Regions from separate parts of the Homo sapiens genome. Here regions 1 and 2 are each linked to region 3. Evidence: promoter capture Hi-C in 16 types of primary human blood cells and fetal thymus (Javierre and others, 2016). All regions are on one chromosome and are shown on one strand. Each heading gives the region's core, a stretch centred on a gene start or on the middle of the fragment in contact. The rest is flanking DNA. Distances are from core to core; before and after follow the strand shown. Region 1 overlaps LOC105376041 (a long non-coding RNA gene). Region 2 holds the start of ANKRD18A (ankyrin repeat domain 18A). Region 3 holds the start of SLC25A51 (solute carrier family 25 member 51).

Region 1 (4,000 bases), core at 590-3,089, 540 kb after region 3:
CAAAGGGGACAGTGGCCTAGACGAAGGTGGTGGCTGTCAGGTTGGAGAGATGTGTCTGGATTTGGCAGGGATTGGAGAGGAAGGAGTGGAGGATGACTTTGGGTCCCTGACTTGGATGAATGGGTTGGGGGTGGTGCCACTCCTGAGATGAGGATGCCAGGGGAGGAGCAGGAAGTTGGGGTGTTCAGATGGGGCATGTTCGACTGGGGTGCCCATGGGACATCCAGAGACAGATAACCAGGAGGCTGACAATTGGCCTTGTGGTCTGGAATTAGAGGGAAAGTCCAGGATGGACCCAGAGCATGTGGCTTACCTTTTGGTGCCAGCTGTGCCCCTTGGACCCTTGATGTTCCTTTGAAGTCAGCACCATGCCCCTGAGAGCTTCTACCCATCCTTCTCAGGGCCCCCTCTCCATCACGGTCCTCTTCCTGGGTATGGTTCAGCTGGTCAGGGTCCTTCTCACAGGGCAGGGCCCAGCCTGAGCATGTAGTTCAGATTTGTCTACCAGTGAGGGGTGGGGGAGGGGTGTCACTGTCCCCACTAAGGACCCCAGACATGAAACCTTTATCAATGTCTTAATGTCATTGTAGTGCCTGAATATGTTTCCTCTTTGGAAAATATAAGAAGGGTTCAAACTCCAGCTCTGCCAGCCTCTAGCTAAGTGACTTTGGGCTTTTACTTAACCTCTCTGAAGCCTCAGTTTTCTCATCCGTGAAGTGGGAATACATGTTACACAGGTTGTGAAGGGTTAAATGAGACAATAACTATAAGAACCTTATCCAAATGCCCAGCACACAGCACACATTCAATAAACAATGGCTATTATTATTGTTATTTTTATTAAGTGAAAAGAAATGAAAAAGAGTATGGCTTTATTAGACAGTTAAGAAAGAAAGGAGGTAGAAAAGAAAAGTTTTTGTCTTCTTCAACAACCAATTTTTTTTGTGGTAGCACTCTCTGAACTTTTCAGACATGCATGAAAATACCCTCCATGCACATTTTCTAATGTCCGGGGTACCAGCCAGAGCTGACCATTCCTAGCCAGCCATACAGCAAGGTCAAAATGAATGGAGAAGTCAAGGCAAACACAACGAGAACAGAGATTTGGACATACAGAGAAGAAAGAGAGAGGCTCTGGGAGAAAATGAAATAAAAATGGGATGTTTATGTGTGGGCTTGATTGCAGAACTTTTCCTTGATTCTCAGAAGGTCACAGAAAGTGGCAGACATAGAGACAAGCCAACACACAAAGAGAGAAAGGCAGCGGGGCCGCATGTGACACTCTGAGGTGCTGTCAGAGGCAGGCCTGCAGGGGAAAAGGAGAAACCGGGAAACAACCAGAAAGACAGTCAGCAAACTTATGTGGGTTTATGGTAGTCATGGACTTCCTCTTATTTTATTTTAAAAATTTAAGCTTTTTATTATGGAAATATGCAAACCCATGCAAAAGAAAAGGGAATAGTATCATGAACTGCCAGCTTCAACAACTGTCAACACATGGCCAATCTTGTTTCATTGATACTCCCCCATCCCCTCCTCCTCTCCTAGGCAGCCTATTATTTCATCACAGTTTTCATTTTTGTGTTTTTGTTTGAGACAGAGCCTCACTCGTCACCCAGGCTGGAGTGCAGTGGTGCAATCACAGCTCACTGCAGCCTTGGTCTCCCTGGCCCAGGTGATCCCCCCACCTCAGCCTCCTGAATAGCTGGGACCATAGACATGCACCTCTAAGCCCAGCTAAGCCTTTTATTTTTTGTAGAGATGGGGGTCTCCTTGTGTTTCCTTGGTTGGTCTCGAACTCCTAGGCTCAAGCGATCCTCCCCCGTCAGCCTCCCAAAGTGCTGGGATTATAGGCTCGAGCCACCACCCTGCCTGGATTTCATTTTTGAAAAGAATTCTGCTTTCTCCAGGGAATTCTTAAAGTGGTGTACAAGTGATCTGATACAGAAGTTTGTTCTCAAACCTACACAAGCCCCTGCCATTCTCTCATCTTGATTCTGAGAGAGCCCAGACTGCCCTGGCCATAGGAGCTGAAAATTATATTGAAATCAAAACTCGGCAGTCAGAGAGTTCTTTTACGATCATCCAGATTGTTAGCATTCAATGCCTGGCTCCCCAACTTGCTAGCTGTGTAAGTTTGGACAACATTCTAGATCTTTCAGTGCCTCAGTTTCCTCATCTGTGAAATGGGGTGATAATGTACCTTTCCCATAGGGCTGTTGTGAGGATGAAACGAGGTGGTAAACATACTAAATGTTTAAAACAAAGCTTGGCACATAGTAGACCCTCGAGGGATGTTAGCTTTCCATCCACCCGTTTAGGAAACATGAGTGAGTGCCAACTGTTGCCAGAGGTATGGGCAGGAGCTGGGTACAGGGAGCTAAATGAGAAGGGCCTCTGCCCTCGAAGAGCTCCCCATCCAGTGGGGTACACAGGCCTATGAAAAGTTAGCTCCAAACAGTAGACAGGTGGCTGTGAAACTGGGCCGTGTCCCAAGCAGTCCATCCCATCCCCTCAATTCAGAAGTGAGCAAACAGAGACCTATGGGGCCCCTGAGCCTAAGGAGCCACAGTGCTTAGCAGCAGAGCTGGGATGGACTCAAAGTGGATTTTCCTGACTGGGCCTCTTCACATGAGGGCTTCAAAGGAGGTCGGTGGCTCAGGAGGGCACCTGGCCCATGCTAGGCAAAGGTGCTGGGCTTTGGGTCAGTCTTTCTGCAGTAGGGAAGGGTAAGATTGGTCATGGGGCCAGGCATGGGCAGCCGCTCTGGCTCCTGGTTAACCAGGTGGGGACTGCAATTCACTGCACGGTCAGGGGCCCAAAGGTAGTGGAGTCCTTGGCACTTTCAGCCCTAGCAGAAGGCCAGGGATGCCAGCTCGGCTGAGCACAGCCATGCATGGCACTGGACTGGGGCTGGGGGATGGAAGGCAGAGCCTGTGGGGAATGGGAGAGGTCGCCACTGTTTACCAGATGCTCTGGGGACAGAGGAGCAGACAGGGTCCAGGCTCCGAGGGGGTAGAAACGCAACCACTGGCAGTCCCCTTTCAGTTCTGTGAAAGGAAAAACACCTTTCTTTTGTCAGAGCTGTCCAAAAGCGGGGAAAAGATTGAGAAAAGAAGCACTGCTCTTTGGGCATGAGGCCAGGCACTCGACTCTCATAGTATCTCATCCACACAGAGCCCTGGAAGGGGGACACTGGATCCATTTTCAGGATGAGAAGAGTAAGACCCAGAGAGGGGCACAGCTTGCCCACAGTCACACAGCTGGCGCGTGGTGGAGCTGGGACTCACTCTCATGGTCTTCCTGGCTCCAAAGCCCACGCTTTTCCACTGAGCCTGGCTCACTTAGCAAGATGGCAGGGTCGGCCTGGGAGGTACAGGGTTCCTACCCCTGACAGTGCCCAAATGGAGCTTCAGGGCTGCCCTGTGGGGAGGGAGAGTGACAGAGAGTGCAGAGGCATTCACACTTCCCGTGGGTGGGTGCTAGTCTGTGATTCCACTACTTCGAGTGGATGAGGGGCCAGGAGACAGCTCAGCCATATGCAGGCCAAGTACACACAGTGCAGAGTGTATGTCTCCCTGGCACCTGCCCTTCCTGCATTCTCTCCTTCCTTCCTTCCTTCCTTCCTTCACTCACTCATTCATTCAGCAAGCACTTACTTGGATTTATTATGTACCTTGTCTGAAGTCCAGAAGCTCAGGGTAGGGGTTGGGTAAGGGACGGCTGGAATTCACAGTTGAATAAAACGTGTTTCTAGCTTTTGAAAACCTCACAACTGGAAAGCGAGAGATGAGATGTGAAAGGCGTCCCTATAGCATGAAGAAGATGTGATGAGTGCTAGAGAGGACCCTCAGCCAAGTTCAGTGGGGCTGGGAGAGGAGAAGTGGGAGGGAGGAGGGAATGACTTTGGGTCAGGGAGGAGCGAGGAGGAGGGCCCAGAGAGGCGATAAGGTCTGAGCTAAAGTTTCCACCTGACCTCATTTGCTGTTTACACATCTGA
Region 2 (4,208 bases), core at 413-2,912, 720 kb after region 3:
GTATTATATATAATAAAGAATAAATTCCCTGTAGGATGAAGATACACTTTTCATCTGAATATATATTTTTATATATTAGTAAAAATATATATAGGAAATATTTTTCGAGTGTGTTATCTTTTGTTAATTTTTTTCTGATACACAGGGGATTTTAATTTTTAGTTTGCTAAATCAACTTTCAGAATGCCTGCTTGCGAGGTCATTCTTACGAAGGCCTTTGTTAACATAAAATGTACCTGTATAAATAAGTCTTTGCGTTTTCTTCTGGTACTTTTTCTCATTTTGCATGTGTAAAAATTTCAGTCTGAATTCCATCAGGAACCCATTTTTGCGACATAAAGTTTCATTAGTTTTCTTCACACAGCAGGCATTTTATTAATAACTCATCTTTTCCTACTCATCTGAAACGTTACCATTATCCATCCCTATGTATATATCTTACATATATTTCAGTGTTTTTGGATTTCCTGTTCTGTTCCATTTATTTATCTGTGTTTTCAGCTGTTAGTAAATAATTAATTGTGGGAATTAATAGCACATTTTGATATCTAGAGGAGCAAGTCTTTTCACTCCATTATAAACATTTTTAAATGTCATCACAATGGTAAGATAGATAGCAAGTGTCATGCAAAAATGATAAAACCTTGATATCTTCATTCAGTTTATGTAAAACTGATAAACATGGAAACAGTTCATATTTTGAGAAAACTGAGTCTTCCCATTCAAGGAACCCACCTCGCGCTTCCCAGTGTCCCTCTAAGAAGCTCCAGTAAAGAACCTGTCTACCTAGGTGGATTCGGATGTAAAACCGACACAGGGTTTTATCTGAGAACTCTTCGCCTACTGAAAAAGGCTCATGGTATTTTTGACAGGGGAATGAGTTCTCATTAGGCACCTCCCTATCATGTATATGGCCCCATGTTTTAAACGTGGATATGCCTAACTTTGTGAGTTAAATCACTCAAATTTTCCACCAAGCGCGACGGACGGGGAATTGCCAGCGACGGAAAGCAGCTGAGGCTCCATTTGGCTCCGCTGCTCCGAGGGTGCCCGGCGCCCTCCAAGGTCCCCGCCCCAGGGGCTGCCGGGCTGCAGGGAAGCCGGGCCTGCGGCCCCCTCCCACCGCGGGCTGAGTCCCCGAGCTACCTGTCTTTTCTGTCGCGGGCGTCCAAGTCCCGGAACCTGCGCGTCAGGCAGCGCTCCACCTCCGCGGCGTCGCCCTTGATGGCAGCCCTGTGGATCTTCCGCAGTTCCCAGTCCCGAATGTCGTAACCCGGACCCGCATACTCTTGGTCCATGGAGCTCAGGAGCGCCTGGCCCAGGCGTCTCCCGAAGCTGAAGAGCTTCCTCATGGTGGCGACTTCTCAGACGCCCACCACCCGCTCCTGAGCCGCGGCGGCTCCTCGTGGCCTTTCCACCCCCACTCCGCCCCAAATCCGCGATCTCCCCCGCAACCCGCGATCCCCCCCGCAACCCGCGATCCACCCCCAAATCCAAGATCCACCCCCAAACCCGCAATGTAGCTCAGAATCCGCGATCCAGCCCGGTCCACCACAGCCTTCAGCAGCGACACTCGCAGACTCCGACCTCTCAGACCGAGTGAGCCCAGCTAAGCCGTTAGGCGCGCGCCTGAACCTCAGCGCTCCGAACTCTCAGACCGAGTGAGTCCCCGCGATGCCAGTTAGGCGCGCGCCTACAACTCAGCGCCAGCCGGGACTCCGGAAGCCGCTCCCAAGCCCTCGTGGCCGGCAGGGGGCACCTGCAGCACGGGCGCACGCGTCGCTGGCTTGCGGGTTCTCCTGGGCTCCCGCGGGACGTCCCGGAATCCCAGGAGTGCATCCCTTCCCGCCTGAGGGCCTGCCTGGCCCTGACTCCCGACCCGCTCCTCCTCCGAAGAGAGATCGGGGCCGCTGACAGGGGCCCTCCGCAGCCACCGGGGATGGGACTGGGGGGTCGGTTCCTGTCCCGGTGCAGCCGCCGCCGGGTAGACCGCCTGGCTTGGCCGCAGCCAGGGCGACATGTAGCCCCGGTTCTGCCAGGCTGGGAGCGCCAGCCATCTTGGGAGTTGCCAGGCAGCTGTCGCCAGCAGGTAGAGGGCGCCTGCAGCTTGGGCGCCCAGGTGGTGGAGCACGGCCTAGGCGGCCTCTGGATCGCGAGTGCACCTGGCCTGAGAGCCCGCCAGGCCCTGCCCCTGCTCGGCTCCTCGTCTGCTGAAGCTCGGGACCTCTAGCCAGTGGCCCTCTGCAGCCACGGGGAATGGGGCTGAGAGCCGGTTCCCGCTGCAGGGCAGACCACCTAGCTCAGCCGCAGCCACAGGGACATCTGGCCCCGGTTCTGAGATGTGGGGAGTGCTGGCGGGCTCGGGGGTTGCCTGGAGGCTGCTGCCTGCACACAGAAGGCGGATGCAGCTTGGGTGCCCAGGCGGGCTGGAGGTGCATGGCCTGGTCGGCCTCGGGATCGCCAGCGCGCCCAGCCTGAGGGCCCCCAGGCCGTGCCTCCCGCCCATTCCTCCACCGGAGGGGGATCGGGGTCGCTGGCATGGGCACTTGGCAGTCACTCCGGATGGGGTTGAGCAGGGGTTCTCAGTTTTCGCCCCTGTGCAGCCGCCGCCGGGCAGAATGCCTGGCTTGGCCGCAGCCACTGCTACACCTAGCGGGTCGGGCGGGCCGGGGGGTGAAAGCGCTGGGAGGCGGGTGCCTTCTCGCCCTGTGGCGCCTCTGGGCCCCACGGCTTGTCGGCCTCCGGCGCGCAGGGCTCCCCAGCATCCTGGGCGCCGGCCCGCTGCCTGCACAAAGTCAACTCAGACAGGATGAACTTCGGTTGCCTTGTCTGGCTGGGCTGCCAGGCGGGGCAGCTGACCTGCTGATGGGGTGACTTTCTTCATCTTCTTGCCCACAGGACAGCGGGCTGGGAAGCCAGGGGCCGCCGGGACCTGGGGCTGGAAACCACATCTGCCCACAGCCGCAGCCTCCTGCACCTGTCATCCTGGCGGCGCCCTGACGTCGGAGAAGCAGCAGGCGCGGAGCTCCTGCAGCGGGCACCGCTGCAGCAACCCGACCCGGCGCAGGCGGCAGTGGAAGGCGGCCTGCTAGCACGGCTCCCGCGGCCCCAGGACCAGGGGTGCGGCCAGCACCGCCCTCACTCCCCGCGTCTCGTGGATATTGCCCTCCCTGGAGGCGGCTGGACCTAAGCGAGGCTCGCAGCGATCGGCCCCGCGAAGACTCGCATGCAGGGCTCAGGATCCCGCATTCTGGCGCCGCGGCACCGCACCTTTCAGCAGCCCTGCTCCTCTTCTTGTTGGTAAACTTTTGTCACTCTGCCATGAAAAGCATCCAGGCGTCCTTGATTTCGACATTGCGTGCACGCTCAGCCGAGCTCATCAGACGGGCGGTTGTCCCCAGAGCCCGCGGGTAGCTTGTTCCCGGGCGGCGGCTCCTGCTGGATGCAGCTCCTTGTGGGCCTACCAGGCTTGGTGGAGCCACAGCAGACCTGTGGAGAGGAAGAGTAAGGCGGGCTCTGCAGGGCAGTGGGCCGGGACCATGAGAGAGGCGGGTCAGTCTGGGCTCCAAGCTCAGCCTCTCGGATTCCCCGGGACCCACGGCTTATAATGCGCTTAAATCCCACGCCTCGCCCGAGAGACAGCACGTCACCGTCACCGTCACCGCCTAGCGCCCCTGACCCGCTCCCACTCCGCTGCAGCGGAGGGTGTGTGAGGGAGAGGGACGCAGGGAGGGAAAAGCGTTGGGAGGGCAAACATCTTTTCATAAGCTTTTCCCCTTCTATATGCCATCTCTGATGGGAGCCTCTTTAGATCTTTCGTCCATTTACTAATTGGGTTGTTCGATTTCTTATTGTTGAGTTGTAAGTGGTTTTTAATGGTCTGGATGCCAGACAGGTGTTTTGCAAATATTTTCTCCGTCTGTGGCTTGTTTCTCCATTCTCTTATTTCCTTTCCCAGAGCAAAAGTTTTTAATTGTAACGACTTCATACCAATATCTTCTTTCATGGTAGAAATTTGTCTTTTATGTACTTTACTGTTGTATCTACAAAGTAATTGCCAAACCCAAAGTTACCTAAATATCCCTTTTGTTATTTTACAGAAGTTTTACAGCTTTTGGATTTAAATTTAGGTCTAAAAATTGAATTCATAAAAGTAGAGAGTATAATGATGCTTACCAGAGGCTGTGTTGCTGGGGAGAAAAATGGGA
Region 3 (3,859 bases), core at 326-2,825:
TAGTACAGTTTAGACTTTTGCATGTTTACCTATACTGTGAACATGGTTAAATTTCTTTGCTAAACTGATCTTTATATTTTTATTCATTAATGTGGATAATTCTTTGCAATTTATTGCAAAATTTATTTACCATAACTTTACGCTTGTTTGCTACGTAAAACTATCTCATCATAAGGGAGCAGTTAATGAACTTGATTTTCAAGCAACTACAAGTGTCAAGCTTCTGTGACTAAGAAAACAGTGTAAAGTCTAAAACCTTATTATAATTTACAGCCTACATGGATCAGCATGATACAGATATGATCCTAGCACAAAGGTCTCTGCAAAAACTGGGGAGAGGGTGACTCCAATTCTCAAAGGATGTGAATTTCCACTAGTCAGCAGGTCTGAGTCAGCATTCAGAACAAGATCAGCCTGGGTCTAGTCCTAGTTACGACACTAGCTTGCCAATATAAAGACAAAGCAATATCTGATTTTAAAATCCACTGATCTGAGTTTGCTTTCATTTACCAAACGAGAGATCAGATGAGTCAACTCCTAGCTTGTTTTCCCCTGAGATGCGCTAAGGGTGATTCCAGTTCCAAAGCGGTAACCTGTGCTCTAAACCACTATGGGACCTCAAGAGTCCTAGCACCTTTTGATCCTATGGAATCCTTTCAAAGCACGGGCAGAGGCGGCTCAAAATGGCAAGGTCACTATACATTTCAAGGGCTTCTGTTTCAGAGATTACAAGTAGAGAAAAACAGAAGGTGGGAATTAAGATCAGCTAGGTAGAGCTGTGAGATGCAAAACAAAGGTTTTGCAGGAAGTTGAGGTGCTGACATACTCCATCTAGCTAAACTGAACACCAAATAATGGATGGAGACTAACACCACCAACACCATCGTCCCCGAAAATCCTTGTACAAGTGAGCTTCCTACAACGCGATGCAATATGCTGTCGCAGAACAAGCACTGCCAGGCTATGTAGCTGAACTTACCGTTCTCCAGGCGTCCATTTCCCCAACCTGTGAAAGGCGGGGAGGGGGTTGGACAAGATCACTAAGTCCTCTTCCGTTTCTGACACTTCACAGTCAGGGGTCCCGAGGTGAGGCCGAAATCCCAGTCTCCCGGGACGCAGAGGCCCTTGCGCGGTGCCATCCCCGCTGTCCCCCGGGCGCAGGCAGCTCCCGGCTCCTCCCCGCCCCTGCGGTTCCTGTGCACCAGGGAGGTGCCTCCCCAGCCCAGGGCGCGCCCGAATGAAGGGACAGCGCCTTCGCGGGAAAGGTCGCCCAGCAGCCGGACAAACACCCGCGGCAGGCGGGGGAGCCCGGAGCCGAGGAGGCTCAGAACTGATTCCGCCCGCGCCGCCTGGGTGGGGCCCGCAGGGACCGGGCCAGGGCAGCCGGAGCGCGCAGAAGACAGGGATGGGCCCCCAGGGCGGCAGCCTGCCCCAGCGGGCCCTTCAGCGCGTTTCCCCTCCCTCCAACCTCATGCGAAGAAAGCCCGGTGCTTCCCCACGCTCGTCCCACACTCACCCATCAGCGCCGGCGTCCCGCAGGACGGCTAGCGAGCCGGGGCCCGCGCAGGCGCAGACTGTGACCGACCCCGAGGTTGGGGCGCAGCGCGACGCGCTGGGCGCTGTTGGGGTCACGTGAGGGAGACACCGCCCCGCCCCGCCTCCCCTCCCTCGGCCCGCGGCCCGCCAGATGTCGCCAGCCTACTTCTCCTGGCCGCAGGCCGCCGCGGCGGGGCAGGTAGAGGGCCACGCCAGCACACCTGTCAGGATGCGGGCTCCGCTAGCCACCATGCTTCACCCTTGATGCCGTACGGTGGCCTCAGCGTGCCAGAAACAGCCAACGCGTTCTCTAGCGCGCTGCCTGCAGGGGGCGTCTGGGCATTGTCGGTTTTAGGGGCCTTGTCGGTTCTGCGGGGCGAGCGCCTTCGCGGAAAACTCCAAAGTACCCTCTGTGGAGCCTTGTTGAGTATCTTCAAACCTTCAGAGGGACCTTTTATCAGCGACCCATGCCGCAGTTTACAGAAGAACGCTTTGTGCGTGCTTTGGGACGTATGGATCACTTTTAAACTTTTTCCTTTGAAGCTCAGACAGCTTGCGGGGGGCTTGGGAGGAGCGCTGCCCGGGGAGTTAGAAGGCTTGGGTCAAAGTCATAGCCCTCATACTTCTTGAGAGTGACCTTGGGTGAGTCGCTGGACCCTGAGCCCCAAATCTCCGTCTGAAAAGTAACCCATGCCTTGTATGCGTCCTCGGGCTGTTGCAGGAGTCTTTGGAAATGATGGTTCTGACTCTGAGTTGGAAACTGGAACGCACACAACAGATGGGAGGCGTTGAAGGAAACAGAAAGGTCGGCCTGAGGGGAGAGGCGTTTCAGGAGGCTTGCGGATGTGTGAAGTGTGCGCACTGTGCTTGGGGCGAGCCCAAGCAGTAACCCCACCCGAGTGAAGCGTTCTTGGGGGGATCGGCTCCGGGTGGGCGACGTTCCCCGCGTGCCCCCTTCCCCCGAGAGCACTTTGTAGACACTGACTCCAAAAGCGGGTCTGGTCTCTGCCCAGCCCCACTTTGGCTGGCGTGCTTAGGTGCCTCTCGGGAAGCTGGAGACCACCCTCCCCCATTCCAGCAAACGCTCCATTGAGGAACCTACTGCGTGCCAGGTCCTGGGGAGCTTAGCGTCTGATGAAGGATACAACAACAAAAGACTGGAAATTCAGAAGCATGAGGGGACCTCCCCCCTCGAGGGAGAACCAGAGATGGCTTCACAGAGCAGACGTTTGAACTGGGCCTTGGAGGATGGATGAGTGGAATTTGGCCCAGTGGAGAAAGTCATAGCAGCAGGAGATAAGATTGTAAGGGTCAGGTGGTGGGGCTGGATAATGCGAATCTTGACTGTCAGACACAGACACCTGCCATCTAATTAGTACGCGAGGGATAAATTTTGGACTCCGCAGGATAAGGACAAGGCTACACAATGGCTTAGAACAGTTAATCGGGCAACAGTTGGAAAGGGCCTTTGCCTCAAAATTATGTTTGCCCTGTCTTGTGTGAATGCCTATTCAGATGCATTATTTGAAAAATAAATAAACCAGGCAGGCATCCAGCGTGTTCATAAGCATAAATAATTAATTTCAGATTAGAATGGAGAGGTTATTCTCCTGCGGTAAAACCTGAACAAGAAGGAAAAGACTGAAATTAAACACACAATTGGGGCACACCAGACTCAGAAAATCCCAGGCTAACGGGAAAACTGAGGTCTGGAGCTGAGCCCAGTCTGCTTCTTTTATGCTGCTGCAGGCCACAGCACAGTCCTCTGCCCCTCCAGCTCTTAGTTCCTTGTCAGAAACCCCCAGGCCCTTCATTGGCTCTTCTTGGGCATATGAATGTTGGGGATGAAAACCCTCTATTTTTGGATACCAGATCCATCTTAAAGTTAGCCCTTCATTTCTGTCCTCATCCACCCATTCCTGCATTCCATACCTCCAACCACTAGGTCAGCTGCCAGATATCCTCCAACCCAGCTGTGATCATGTCATCCCGCAGCTTAAAAATCTCCAATGGTTCCCCCTTGGTTCCCTCTTGGTTCCCCCAGTAAATCCAAACTCCTTAACTCGGTGCACGGGGCTGTCCTGTCCTGGCCCTTTTGCCAGTCTGTCCACCTCAACCCCAACTATATTCTGTGCTTTAGCCATATGCAGTCTCAGTGTTTTGCAAATCCTGTGTTCCTTAAGCCTGTTTCCCCCTTTCACCACTGATACATGTTAGCCCTTCACCAAATAGCCCTTCAAGGTCCTTTTGCCTCCTCTCCCTCCTAGAAGGCTTCCCTGATCATCTCAGGCAAAATTGACTGTCCTTGCCCCTGCCTTCCCAT

The links. Contacts are between HindIII fragments. The CHiCAGO score rates a contact against its expected background, and 5 or more counts as called.
Region 1: a fragment that was not itself captured here is called in contact with the fragment with the promoter of SLC25A51 in region 3 in 8 of 17 cell types (naive CD8 T cells, megakaryocytes, naive B cells and 5 more); the score reaches 7.7 in naive CD8 T cells.
Region 2: the fragment with the promoter of ANKRD18A here is called in contact with the fragment with the promoter of SLC25A51 in region 3 in 5 of 17 cell types (activated CD4 T cells, total CD4 T cells, total CD8 T cells and 2 more); the score reaches 11.7 in activated CD4 T cells.

The regions. Positions count from the first base shown.
Region 1 is chr9:38,439,390-38,443,389 of GRCh38, forward strand. All of the region lies in intron 4 of LOC105376041 (a long non-coding RNA gene), which reads left to right. Among named protein-coding and RNA genes, the nearest start is that of IGFBPL1, 17 kb to the left of the region's middle. RefSeq lists an enhancer at 3,803-4,000. The HindIII fragment of the contact is 854 bases long and covers 1,413-2,266 here.
Region 2 is chr9:38,618,934-38,623,141 of GRCh38, forward strand. It overlaps ANKRD18A (ankyrin repeat domain 18A), which reads right to left and starts at 1,663. Exons shown (of 16, transcript NM_147195.4): 1 at 1,147-1,663. The coding sequence starts at 1,352. FAM201A (family with sequence similarity 201 member A) reads left to right here and starts at 2,155. Exons shown (of 2, transcript NR_027294.1): 1 at 2,155-2,432; 2 at 2,899-4,208. RefSeq lists enhancers at 2,309-2,428, 3,081-3,290. The HindIII fragment of the contact is 5,020 bases long and covers 1-3,766 here.
Region 3 is chr9:37,902,552-37,906,410 of GRCh38, forward strand. SLC25A51 (solute carrier family 25 member 51) reads right to left here and starts at 1,576. Exons shown (of 3, transcript NM_033412.4): 1 at 1,517-1,576. It also overlaps the pseudogene PAICSP1. RefSeq lists a silencer at 1,017-1,776. The HindIII fragment of the contact is 4,581 bases long and covers 219-3,859 here.